Regions from separate parts of the Homo sapiens genome. Here region 2 is linked to region 1. Evidence: promoter capture Hi-C in human tissues and cell types (Jung and others, 2019). All regions are on one chromosome and are shown on one strand. The core of a region is centred on a gene start or on the middle of the fragment in contact, and the rest is flanking DNA. Distances in the headings are between cores, read along the strand shown.

The links. Contacts are between HindIII fragments. The study calls those that stand out against the background at their distance.
Region 2: a contact is called between a fragment that was not itself captured here and the fragment with the promoter of CYP2A6 in region 1, in 2 of the 25 tissues and cell types used here (H1 embryonic stem cells and mesenchymal stem cells).

The regions. Positions count from the first base shown.
Region 1 is chr19:40,846,318-40,852,952 of GRCh38, forward strand. CYP2A6 (cytochrome P450 family 2 subfamily A member 6) reads right to left here and starts at 4,130. Exons shown (of 9, transcript NM_000762.6): 1 at 3,930-4,130; 2 at 3,501-3,663; 3 at 2,297-2,446; 4 at 1,902-2,062; 5 at 558-734. The coding sequence starts at 4,109. RefSeq lists enhancers at 1,989-2,488, 5,298-5,326, 6,522-6,556 and promoters at 4,109-5,128, 4,109-4,245. The HindIII fragment of the contact is 10,166 bases long and covers 1-6,635 here.
Region 2 is chr19:41,147,905-41,154,539 of GRCh38, forward strand. The region is part of intron 2 of LOC124904790; the gene reads right to left. Among named protein-coding and RNA genes, the nearest start is that of CYP2F1, 37 kb to the left of the region's middle. The HindIII fragment of the contact is 5,706 bases long and covers 91-5,796 here.

The DNA of each region.
Region 1 (6,635 bases), core at 2,880-5,379:
CTTCAATTATCAACTTAGCTGTCAGTTTTTTTTTGTTTTTTTTTTTCTTATACTGACTTGGTCTTGCTAAGTTGCACAGGCCGGACTCCAACTCCTGAGCTCAAGCAATCCTCCAGCCTCAGCCTCCTGAGTAGCTGGAACTGCACATGCGCATGACCATGCAGGCTCACTTACTTTTTAAACAATTAATTAATTTTTTTTGACACAGGGCCTCATTCTGTCACCCAGACTGGAGTGCAATGCCGTGATCTTGGCTCATTGCAACCTCTGCCCCCCTTCGCGCCACCATGCCCAACTAATTTTTGGATTTTTAGTAGAGACGGGGTTTGACCATGTTGGCCAGGCTGGTCTCGAACTCCTGACCTCAGGTGATCCACCTGCCTCGGCCTCCCAAAGTGCTGGGATTACAGGCTGTTAGCCACGGCACCCAGCCAATTGTGAGGATTATTATGATGAGGGTTAATTTGAATGGGCCTGTGTCATCTGCCTGCCCCACTCCCAGACTGATTTCCCTCTGCCTGGCTTTGCATCTCCCCGCAGTGGCTGCTGGGGTGTACCTCCTGCATGCGGATGAGAAAGGAGTCAATGAAGTCCCGTGGGGAATTGGGATCCAGCGTGCGCTGGTTGTGCTCCACCTTCTTGGCTATGAAGTCCTCCAGCCCTTGCAGCAACTGAAAGGCCTGTTGCTGTGGTCCTGGCAGGTGTTTCATCACCGAAGAGAACATCTCATAGAGCTGGGGTTGCAGAGAGAGGATGGGAAGGGAAGGACAGCTGTCACGGGGCAGGAGCTGATGGGAATGGGATTTGTTTCATAGCAAGGAAGGAACTGAGTTAAAGGCATCTGTCTCGTTGTTTAGGTATTTCAGTGGGGCCGGATAGGAACTTATATCTAAGTTTTCAGGAAGGTTAGGTACCAGGGCCACGGTCTAGTAATTTAGGTGAGAAGAACTGAGACATATATCCAGGTTTCAGGTATTTAAACGAGGCTGGATTGGAGCACACATCTAGGTGTTCAGATATTCAAGTGAAGTTGAGTTGGAAGACACCTGTCCAGGTGTTTAGCTCTTCAGGTGGGGCTGGTATGAGGTGAGTGTCACCTGTCTAGGTATTTAGGCATTCAAGTAGGCTTGGTTGGAGACAGCTGTCCAGATACTTACTGGGTCTGGATTGGGGGCTTTTGTTCAGGTGCTCAGGTATTAAAGTGGGGCTGGTGAAGATGTTGAAGTGGAGGGGATACCTGTTGAGGTGTTTACCTATCCAAGTGGGATGCACTGGGAGCACCTCTGTAAGGTGTGTGATTGGAAAGGGTTGGGGAACACTTATTTGTGTGTCAGGGAACAATCTGTCTAGATATTTATGTGTTTAAGGTGTTGGTTAGGGCAGCTGTCCATGTTTTCAGGTATTTAAGTGGGTGAAGTAGAGGGCGCTTGGCCAGATATTCCAGTGGGCTAATCTGGGACATTTGTGTAGATGTGAAATGATTATGATGGGCTGGATTTTGCAGCACCAGGTGTTCAGGTATGCAGGAGGCCGGTTGACGCAGTCACTTGTCCAGGTGTTAAAATATTCAGAAGAACTGGGTAGGGAGCATCTGTTAGAAATTACGGTAAGTTGGGGATGGGAACACGTGCCCAGGTGAGAGAGCTGAGCTGAGGGTATGCATCCTGCCAGCAGGCTCTGTTTTGGGGAGCATCTGTTGAGCTATCCAGGTGTCCTTGGAGACAGGGTATTGGACATCCATCCTGGGTTCTGGTGCAACTGTCCAGTTGTCCAATATCGGGGACTGATTTTGAGGGGACACTGTCTGGAGGGCGGTGGGAGTTTGGGGCACCTGTCTCCAGGTAGGGGAGCAGTTGGCAGGTTGTGGTAGGGGCGTCACGGGCCGGGCTGCAGCCAGTTACCTGCCCCGTGGAGGTTGACGTGAACTGGAAGATTCCTAGCATCATGCGCAACAGTGACAGGAACTCTTTGTCCTTATAGTCAAAGCGGTCCCCAAAGACAATGGAGCTGATGACATTGGAGACTGTGCGGCTCAGGAAGAAGGTGGGATCGATATTGGCGCCTGCGGGTATGGCGGGAGAAGGGGGTTGGGGAGAGAGTCAACTCAGAGGTCTGAGGAGAGTCAGAATTCCAGGAGGCAGGGCCTTGTTGAGCCAAATTCCCAGCGCCAGACTCCAGGGCTGGAAGTGCGGGCGCCTTTCCCCACCTAGTCCCCATCCCCAGGCAGAACGCGCGCGGGTTCCTCGTCCTGGGTGTTTTCCTTCTCCTGCCCCCGCACTCGGGGTCCCCTGCTCACCGCCAGTGCCCCGGAGGGCGTCGATGAGGAAGCCCGCCTCCTCCTGGATGCGCTCCTCGATGCCTCGCTTGCCCACCCCGAAGTCCCGCAGGGTGGCGATGGAGAAGCGCCGGAGCTGCTTGGCGCGCTCCCCGTTGCTGAATACCACGCCTGGGGAGGTGAACGCGGGAATGGAGACAGGCCAGGGGGCGGCAGGGGCAGGAGCGGAGCAGCTCCAAGGGGCTCCCCAAGGGTGGAGGAGAGAGGGAGTAGGGTGGGAGAGAGATGGATTCAGCGCCATTGCCCAGCAGAGCTGCAAACTCAGTCAGAGAAACACGATGTCGAGGTAGAGAGAGAGAGAGAGAGAGAGAGAGAGAGAGAGAGAAGAGAGAGAGGAGAGAGAGAGAGAGAGAGAGAGAAGAGAGAGAGGAGAGAGAGAGAGAAGAGAGAGAGGAGAGAGAGAGAGAGAGAGAGAGAGAGAGAGAGAGAGAGAGAGACCAGGTTTAAAGAATAAGACAATCAGAAAAGAAACAGAAAGGCCAGACAGAGAGATGCACATAGAAACAGAGGGATAAGGGGACACTCCATGGAGGAAGGGAAGGAAGTGGGGAGAGAAAGAGAGTGATGGAGGAAGAGGATGGAGGGAGGGGAAGTGAGATATGGGGAGATCTGGGAGGAGGAAATAAAAATGGTGAAAGATTCTTAAGCTGAGCTGGAGAAGAGAGAAAAATATTGAGATAGAAACAGAGAGGGTCTGGAAGGAAGAGAGACTGTTACCAGGAGATGGAGGCTGAAGATGTGGAAGTAGGAATACCCTGAAATCCTAAGACAGAGGAAGAAGTGAGAAAGGGATGCGGAGAGATGAGAAACACAGAGAAGCCCAGAAGCTAAGAGGGACAAAAAGACAAATGAAGACAGAGAACCAGGGCTGGAAAACAGAAACCCAGGATGTCCTTAGAGATGGAGAGAGAGGGGAAAGAGGAGACTCCAGTGAGAGAGAATAAGGAGGTGGGGCAGAGAGAGGCAGGGAGGAATCAGGACAGGGACGCTGGAGACAGGTGAGGGATACACATGGAGAGGCCACAATGAAGGGAGATGGGGAGGGAAGACCAGACTGGGGACTCTGCCTTAGCCTCCAGTTGGCAGGAGAGTCAGGGAGAAGGCTGGGAACACTGAGACCTTCGTGTCCACCTGGCCACCTTCCCCCTCTTGGGCACCCCCTCACCATAGCCTTTGAAGACCCAGTCGAAGGTGGCTTGCTCGCCTCGCCCGCTGAACTCCTCAGCCTGGTCCACCAGAGCCTCCCTGACGGCATCATGTCCACACAGCACCACGACCCGCCGGGGCCCCAAGTGAATGGTGAACACGGGGCCATAGCGCTCACTGATCTGATGGAGGTGGGTGGGAGTGGTTAGAGGGAGAAGCCTCCACTCTGAATGGGGCCCAGCACCGAGATGTCATGTGCTGGGATGCTTCGCACCCAGGTTCTCACAGTCAGGGAGCTGGACATCCCAAGATCCTGTCTTTCTGATGCTGAAACTCCAAAACTCCATTTCCTAAGACTCTGGTCCACACTGGTCAACCCCCTGCCACAAAGCCCCAGCCAACTAGGCAGCCCCCACCCCGTGCCACCCATCTCCCTGCCTTGGGACACCTTCATGAGGGAGTTGTACATCTGCTCTGTGTTCAGCTGCAGGTAGTTTCCAATGAAGGGCAATGGGGTGGGTCCCGGAGGCAGCTTCCCCTTGCTCTTCCTCTGCTGCCAAACAGACATCAAGACCATTACAGTCAGGCAGACCAGCAAGGCCACCAGAAGCATCCCTGAGGCCAGCATGGTGGTAGTGGGATGATAGATGGTGACGGCTGGGGTGGTTTGCCTTTATACTGCCTGAAAAAGAGGGATGGACTTTGGCTGATTACATAATTACCTCATTTCACCTCCCAACTACATGCCCCACCATGAATCCTGCCTAGCTTGGGACACAGCCAGCAAGGGAGGATAAGGGGACCCCAGGGCAGCTGAACAGAGAGGGGGCCTCCAGACTAAATCTGTGGTACTTCAGGAGGGGTGCCGCAGGGCTGTGGATTTAGGAGGGGGCAACAGATAAGCTGTAGAACTGAGGAGTTTGGAATATTTGCATAGGGGAGCACTTGGGCTTTGGATTTGGGGTCTGAGAGTGAGAATGCACCCCAAAGTTGTGGATCTGGGGGTTCCAGGGGAGAGGAATCCAAAGGTCTGGGTTTTATTAGGGTAAGACAAAGTGTGGCTGTGCATTTAGGGGTCTTCTGTTGTGGAGGATGCAGGGTTAAGGGTCTCAGGAAGGGGGATTCCAGGCATATGGACTTGAAAGTCTCGGGGCTAGGAAGACCCAGGGCTGTGGGTGTGGAGTTTCTGGGAGGAGGAGTGTGTAGCAAGCCCAGCGGGTTCTCCCAGAAAGCCCAGCAGCCCAGCACTGGGTCCAGGGGCTGACTTGATTTTGCTTTTGCCCAGAGCTGTCTCTTGATGCCCAGAATCCTCATTGGAACCTCAGAGTGAGGCCAGGATGGGTGCCATAGAACCTCCACTGCCCATCTCTGATTGGGAAGGGGAGGAAGACCAGAGCCATATTTCAGGGGAACTTTCCCCACACCTGGAGAAGAGTACCTGGAGTTAGCGGTTGGCAGAGGGATTGGCTAGGTCTGGAGAAATAGTAATAACAACCCCCAAATGGTGGAAAAATCTCAAGTGTCCCAAGGGTTGTCCGCTGGTTTCCAACCCAGATCCTCAGGGAAACCCACTAGATTGATTGTATCATCCCTATTAATATTATGATTGTTGTTTATGTTTCTCATTTTATATAAAGATCTACAGAGGACAGAAAACAGACAGTGGGCAGGGGACATGTGTGAGTGGCCCTGAACTCCCATCTCTCCTGCTCTGTGTACTTAGTTCCCCTTTCTGGATTTGGTTTTCCTGCCAGTGGAAAGGGAGTGTTTGGGAAGAGAAGATCACATTCGAGGGTGAGTTAAGTCTCCTTTAAGAATGATTCCTGCTTTGTCAGGGGCTACTACTATTAGCAGGCAGAGGGAACAGTGGCAGAAGAGATTGGGGTAAACTCCAGTATTAGGCACAGAGGCAGATCCTGGGGTGGGTGTGAGTGGAGAAGGGATGAGTAGCCCTCCTGTCCTTCCCTCAGGGAAATTCTTCCTTAGTAAACAGGACAGTTACCCTTTGGTGAGCATGGTCGTATACGGGAAGATTAAGTCTAGGTGTGTATGATCTGGTTGAATCTTTGTAACAATGAGGTTGGTTCATCATGATCATCCTCATTTTGAAGATGAGCAGATCTAGACTCCATAAATCCTCTTGAGTGAGGTCACACAGGGAGTAAGTGAGGGAGCTGGGATGTGAACTTTCTCCTCACCCCCCTTCATTGACTGGCCTAGATCACCCTGGGAGTCAAGTGCAGGCCAGCCTTAGCAGGAGGTGAGTGCTGGGACTGGCATCAGCAGTGGACACACTGATGACATTGGTGGGTTCTGATATCAGCATCAGGTATGGCCAGGGAGGGAAAGGCATCGTGTTGGCTTTGGGACTGCCCCCAGGTGTATGCGAGGATGGGAAACAAGTTGGCACTGAACTTGACACCAGGAGAATATTGAAGTCATGTTTGGTGCCAAGAGGGCTCTGTGTGTTGTCTCAGGTGTCATTGAGGGCATAAGAGTGTCCTGCTTCAGGAGGGCGTAAGGGTGGCACCATATAGGGTCTGAGGTTGGTCCCAGTGGGCTGTGACATGAGCATGAGGCAGGTGCTGATATTGGTCCTATGTGGGTCTGAGATGAGCCTCAGCCAGACCCTGAGAGGGGCCCCAGATGGCCACAGGACAGGCTGTGGTGGTTGGACCATTTAGGGTTGCACCTGTCCTCTGGGTCACCAACTTTGGACAAGTGGAGGTGGGTGAGGTTGGCACCCCCAGGACTGACATCTTGCTCAAACTGTTCTAGGATGCTGAGCTCTGAGACCTGTGTGGAGGGAACAAAGGTCAGAGAACAAGGCAGAGAGAGGAAAGTTGTTTGTTGATTTTGGAGGGGAAGAGGTGGGAAGGAAGATTAGCACCAGCTTGGCAGATATCAATCGCTCTAATCCTGTTCACCAGTCTGCACCTGGGCCTGGCTCCTCCTTTTCCTTCGTGTTTCTTAAAAAGGTGGGAGACAGAAATCTGGGGAGTTTGTTTCTCACTGGGGTTGGCACTAGGAAGTGCACTGAGTGATCAGCAGGTTGCCATGACCTGGCCAGGGAGGGGATGGGGAGAGACAGGTTGGGAGAACTCTAGTATTTGTGGACATAGAGGTCAATGAATTTTGGACTTGTTGATTACCC
Region 2 (6,635 bases), core at 1,694-4,193, 300 kb after region 1:
GCATGATGGCTTATGCCTGTAATCCCAGCTACTCGGGAGGCTGAGGCAGGAGAATTGCTTGGACCAGGACCCGGGAGGCGGAGGTTGCAGTGAGCCAAGATCGCACCACTTTACTCTAGCCTGGGCTACAGAGTGAGACTCCATCTCAAAAAAAAAAAAAAAAAAAAAAAAAAAAAAAAAAAAAATATATATATATATATATATATATATATATATACACACACACACACACACATATATACATATGTATATATAAAATTTCCCATCACATCTGAATCATGAAATACTAAGAGATACATTTAATAAAATATGTGCAAAACCAGTACACTGAAAACCACAAAACATTAAAGAAGGAAACAGAATAAGACTTGAGTAAGGGGCGAGATCCACCATGTTCAAGAATCAGATTACTCAATATTAAGATATTAGTGCTCCAGCCCAGGCGCAGTGGCTCACACCTGTAATCCCAGCACTTTGGGAGCCCGAGGCGGGTGGATCACTTGAGGTCAGAAGTTCGAGACCAGCCTGGGCAACATGGTGAAACCGATCTCTACTAAAAATACAAAAAAATTAGCTGGGCATGGTGGCACACACCTATAATCCCTAGGGAGACTGAGGTAGGAGAACAGCTTGAACCCGGGAAATGAAGGTTGCATTGAGCAGAGATAGCGCCACTGCACTCCAGCCTGGGCAAAGAGTGAAACTCCATCTCAAAAAATAATAATAGTAATAAAAGATAATAGTGTTCATCTGTAGAGTAAATGAATCCCAGACAAAATTGAAATACCAGCAAGCTTTATTTATTTATTTATTTATTTATAGAAATTGTCAAGCTGAGGCTACAATTTATATGGCAATGTAAAGGATCAACAAGAGCCAAACATCTTGAAAAAGAAAAACCAGACTGGGCGCAGTGGTTCACACCTGTAATCCCAGCACTTTGGGAGGCTGAGGCAGGCAGATCACCTGAGGTCAGGAGTTCAAGACCAGCCTGGCCAACATGGTAAACCCCATCTCTACTACAAATACAAAAATGAGCCAAGTGTGGTGGCGCACGCCTGTAGTCCCAGCTACTCAGGAGGCTGAGGCAGGAGAATCACATGAACCCAGGAGGCAGAGGTTGCGGGGAGCCGAGATGGTACCACTGCACTCCAGCCTGGGAGACAGAGCAAGACCCTGTCTCAAAAAAAAAGAAAAAAAAAGAGAAAAACCAGGCTGGCACAGTGGCTCATGCCTATAATCCCAGCACTTTGGGAGGCCAAGGCGGGCGGATCACCTGAGGTCAGAAGTTCGAGACTAGCCTGACCAAAATGGTGAAATTCCGTCTCTACTAAAAATACAAAAAATTAGCCGAGTGTGGGGGCTTGTGCCTGTAATCCCAGCTACTTGGGAGGCTGAGACACAAGAATCACTTGAACCCGGGAAGCAGAGGTTGCAGTGAGCTGAGATTGCACCACTGCATTCCAGCCTGGGTGGCAGAGTGAGACTCCCACTCAAAAAAAAAAAAAAAAAAAAAAAAAAAAGAGGCCGGGCACAGTGGTTTATGGTTTATGCCTGTAATCCCAGCACTTTGGGAGGCCGAGGTGGGTGGATCACGAGGTCAGAAGATGGAGATCATCCTGGTTAACACAGTGAAACCCCGTCTCTACTAAAAATACAAAAAAATTAGCCAGGCGTGGTGGTGGGCGCCTGTAGTCCCAGCTACTTGGGAGGCTGAGGCTGGAGAATGGCGTGAACCCAGGAGGTGGAGCTTGCAGTGAGCCAAGATCGCGCCACTGCACTCCAGCAGCCTGGACAGAGTGAAACTTCGTCTCAAAAAAAAAAAAAAAAAGAAAAAGAAAAGCCAAATGGAAGGATTTATATTAATATCAAAATTTATAATAAAACTACAGTAATAGGCTGGGCACTGTGGCTCATGCCTGTAATCCCACCACTTTGGGAGGCCAATGCAAGAGCCCAGAAGTTCACTTGAGCTTAGAAGTTCAAGACCAGCCTGGGCAATATAGTGAGAACCCATCTCTACAAAAACTTAAAAAACTAGCCAGGCATGATGGCATGTGCCTGTGGTCCTAGCTATTCAGGAGGCTGAGGTGGGAGGACCGCTTGAGCCCAGGAGGTCTAGGCTGCAGTGAGTCATGATGGCACTGCTCCACTCCAGCCTGGGTGACAGGGCAAGACTCTGTCTCAAAAAAACAAAAAACCACACACACACACTACAGTAATAAAGGCAAGGTGTACTGGGATTCCGATAGAAAGAGATGAATGGAATAAACTAGGAAGTCCATAAATATGTGGTCAATAGAATTTTTTTTTCTTAGAGTTGGGGGTCTCACTGTGTTTAACAGGCTGGTCTCAAACTCTTGGACTCAAGCGATCCTCCTGCCTCAGCCTCCCTCACCTGCTTTCAATTGATTACTGACAAAGATGCTAAGATAATTCAGTGGAGAAAAGACAGTATTTTCTTTTTCTTTTTTTTTCTTTTTTTTTTTTTTTTTTTTTTTTGAGGAGTCTTGCTCTGTAGCCCAGGCTGGAGTGCAGTGGCTCAATCTTGGCTTACCGCAAACTCTGCCTCCCGGGTCCCAGTTCAAGCAATTCTCCTGCCTCACCCTCCCGAGTAGCTGGGACTACAGGCATGCATCACCATGCCCAGCTGATTTTTGTATGTTTAGTAGAGACGGGGTTTCGCCATGTTGGCCAGGCTGGTCTCGAACTCCTGACCTTGTGATTCACCCACCTTGGCCTCCCAAAGTGCTGGGATTACAGGTGTGAGCCACCACACCTGGCCAGTATTTTCAACAAATGGTAGAATGACTAAATAGCCTCATGGAAACAAAACGAACCCTGCCTTTTACTTCACATCATACACAAAAATTAACTTGAAATAGGTCAGAGATCTAAAAGTACAGACTAAAGCTAAAGAACTTCTAAAAACATATTTTCAAAACCTTGAAGTAGATCTTTTTTTTTTTTTAACATGGGACTCAAAAATCACTAATCATAAAGGAAAAAATTGACAAACTGGACTTAGTCAAAAATAATACTTTCAGCCAGGCACGGTGGCTCATGCCTCTAATCCCAACACTTTAGGAGGCCAAGGTGGGAGGATTGCTTGAACCCAGGAGTTCTAAACCAGCCTGGGCAACGTAGTGAGAACCAGTCTCTATATTTAAAATAAATAAATAAATAATAGTAGTACTTTTGCTCATCCAAAACCAGCATTAAGAAAATATACGGACCGGCCAGGCGTGGTGACTCACACCTGTGATTCCAGCACTTTGGGAGGCCAAGGCAGGCAGATCACCCGAGGTCAGGAGTTTGAGACCTGTCTGGCCAAACCCCATCTCTACTAAAAATATAAACATTAGCCGGGTGTGGTGGCACACGCCTGTAATCCCAGCTACTCAAGAGGCTGAGGCAGGAGAATTGTTTGAACCCAGGAGGCAGGGGTTGCAGTGAGCCAACATTGTGCCACTGCACTCCAGCATGGGCAACAGAGAGAGACTCCATCAAAAAAAAAAAAAAGGAAAGAAAGGAAAAGAAAAGAAGATATATAGACCAGGCACAGACCAGAAGAAAATATTCACAACACATATATCTCACAAAATAACCCGTGCCTGAAATATCTAAACAACTCCTATGGCTCAATAAAAAAAAAAAAAAAAAAGCCCAACCAGCCGGGCACGGTGGCTCACACCTGTAATCCCAGCACTTTGGGAGACCAAGGTGGGGTGGATCACGAGGTCAGGAGATCGAGACCATCCTGGCTAACATGGTGAAACCCTGTCTCTTCTAAAAAAATACAAAAAATTAGCCGGGCATGGTGGCACACGCCTGTAGTCCCAGCTACTCGGGAGGCTGAGGCAGGAGAATGGCGTGAACCTGGGAGGCGAAGCTTGCAGTGAGCCGAGATCGCGCCACTGCACTCCAGCCTGGGCGACAGAGTGAGACTGCGTCTCCAAAAAAAAAAAAAAAAAAAAAGCCCAACCAAAAAATGGCCAACAGGCTATAAAAAGGTGTTTAATGTCATTAGCCAACAGGAAACACAAATTAAAACCACACTGAGATACCACCACACACCCATAAGAAAGGCTAAATGGAAATATGCAAACAGCACCTAGTGCTGGCAAGGATCACCAGAACTCTCGTTCATGACTATGGGTGTATAAAACGTACAACTGCTTAGAAAAAGTTTCTGCAAATTTCTTAAAAGTTTAGCAGGCCAGGCGCAGTGGCTCGTGCCTGTAATCCCAGCACTTTGGGAGGCCGACGCGGGTGGAACACGAGGTCAGGAGTTCGAGACCAGCCTGGCCAACACAGTGAAACCCCGTCTCTACTAAAAATACAAAAATTAGCCAGCCGTGGTGGCAGGCACCTGTAATCCCAGCTACTCAGGAGGCTGAGGCGGGAGAATTGCTTGAACCCGGGAGGTGGAGGTGGCAGTGGGCTGAGACCACACCATTGCACTCCAGCCTGGGTGACAGAGTAAGACTCCATCTCAAAAAACAAACAAACAAAAAAGTTTGGCAGGCCAGAGGCGGTGGCTTACTCCTGTAATCCCAGCACTTGGAGGATCACTTGAGCCCAGGACTTCAAGACCAGCCTGGGCAACATCAGGAGACCCTGTCTCTACAAAAACATGAAAACTAGCCGGGTGAGATGGTGTGCACCTGTAACCCAGCTACTTGGGAAGCTGAGGTGGTAGGATTTCTTGAGCCCAGGAGGTCAGGGCTGCAGTGAGCCAGAGATTGCACCACTGCACTCCAGCGTGGGCAACAGAACAAGACCCTGTCTCAAAAAAAATAAAATTAGCATCACGCAACAACATAGATACATTTCAAAAACATTGTGCTGAGTAAAGCAAGTCTTGCACACAAGAGTACTTATGGTATAATTCTGGTTATTTGGGCTGCCGAGGCAGGTGGATCACCTGAGGCCAGGAGTTCCAGACCAGCCTGGCCAAAATGGTGAAACCCCATTTCTGCTAAAAATACAAAAAATTAGCTGGGCATGGTGGCACATGCCTATAATCCCAACTGCTCGGGAGGCTGAGGCAGGAGAATTACTTGAACCCAGGAGGTGGAGGTTGCAGTGAGCCGAGGTTGCACCACCGCACTCCAGCCTGCGCAACAAGAGCAAAACTCTGTCTCAAAAAAAAAGAAAAGGAAATGCTGGTTATTTAACGTTCTATAACAGACAAAACTAACTTATGTGGGGAGGTGGGACAAAAGAGTTGTTGTTTCTGAGACACTGACTGAGAAGGGACATGAGGGGACTTTTTGCGGTGATGATAGTGCTCTATCTTGATGGGTGTTTTTATTATACAGGTACATGCATTTTTCAAAGCACATCAAACCATATAGTTATGATTTATGCATTTTATTCTATGTCAATTTTACCTTGAAAACATAAAGATTCAATTTTAGGTAATGATATTGATATTCAAGTGTCTGGGGGTGAAATGTACTGGTGTCTGCCATTTCTATCAAGAAGCATCAGAAAAATAGGCGAGGTGCAGTGGCTCATGCCTGTAATCCCAACACTTTGGGAGGCCAAGGTGGGAGGATCACTTGAGGTCAGGAGTTCGAGACCAGCCTGGCCAACAAGATGAATCCCGTTTCTACCAAAAAATACAAAAATTAGCCGGGCGTGGTGGTGCATGCCTGTTGTCCCAGCTACTCGGGAGGCTGAGATGGGAGAATCGCTTGAAGAAAAAAGGCCTGGCGCGGTGGCTCACGCCTATAATCCCAGCACTTTGGGAGGCCAAGGCAGGCAGATCATCTGAGGTCGGGAGTTCGAGACCAGCTAGACCAACATGGTGAAACCCCATCTCTACTAAAAGTACAAAATTAGCCGGGCATGGTGGCACACGCCTGTAATCCCAGCTACCCGGGAGGCTGAGACAGGAGAATTGCTTGAACTAGGGAGGCGGAAGTTGCAGTGAGCTGAGATCACGTCATTGCACTCCAGCCTGGGCAACAAGAGCAAGGCACGGTGGCTCACGCCTGTAATCCCAGCACATTGGGAGGTTGAGGCGGGCGGATCACGAGGTCAGGAGATCAAGACCAACCTGGCTAACACGGTGAAACCCCATCTCTACTAAAAATACAAAAAAAAATTAGCCGGGCGTGGTGGCGGGGTCCTGTAGTCCCAGCTATTCAGGAGGCGGAGGCGGGAGAATGGCGTGAACCCAGGAGGCAGAGCCTGCAGTAAGCCAAGATCGCACCATTGCACTCCAGCCTGGGTGACAGAGCGAGATTCCATCCCAAAAAAAAAAAAAAAAAAAAAAAAAAAAGCAAGGGCGAAACTCAATCTCAAAATAAATAAATAGGTGCAGTGGCTCATGCCTGTAATCGCAGTGCTTTGGAAGGCTGAAATGAGAAGATTGCTTGAGGCCAGGAGTTTGAGGTTACAGTGAGCTGTGATCACTCCATGGCACTCCAGCCTGGGTGACAAAGCAAGAAATACAAATAAAATAAATAATAAGGTGGTTTGGTGGGAGGGTAGAAGGATAGATATGACAAAACAAACATGGGAAAATGTTCATTGTAGAATCTAAGTGATGAGTATGTGGGTGTTTATTATACAATTCTTTAAACTTTTCTTTATGTTTGAAATTTTTTCCTAATAGTGTTGGG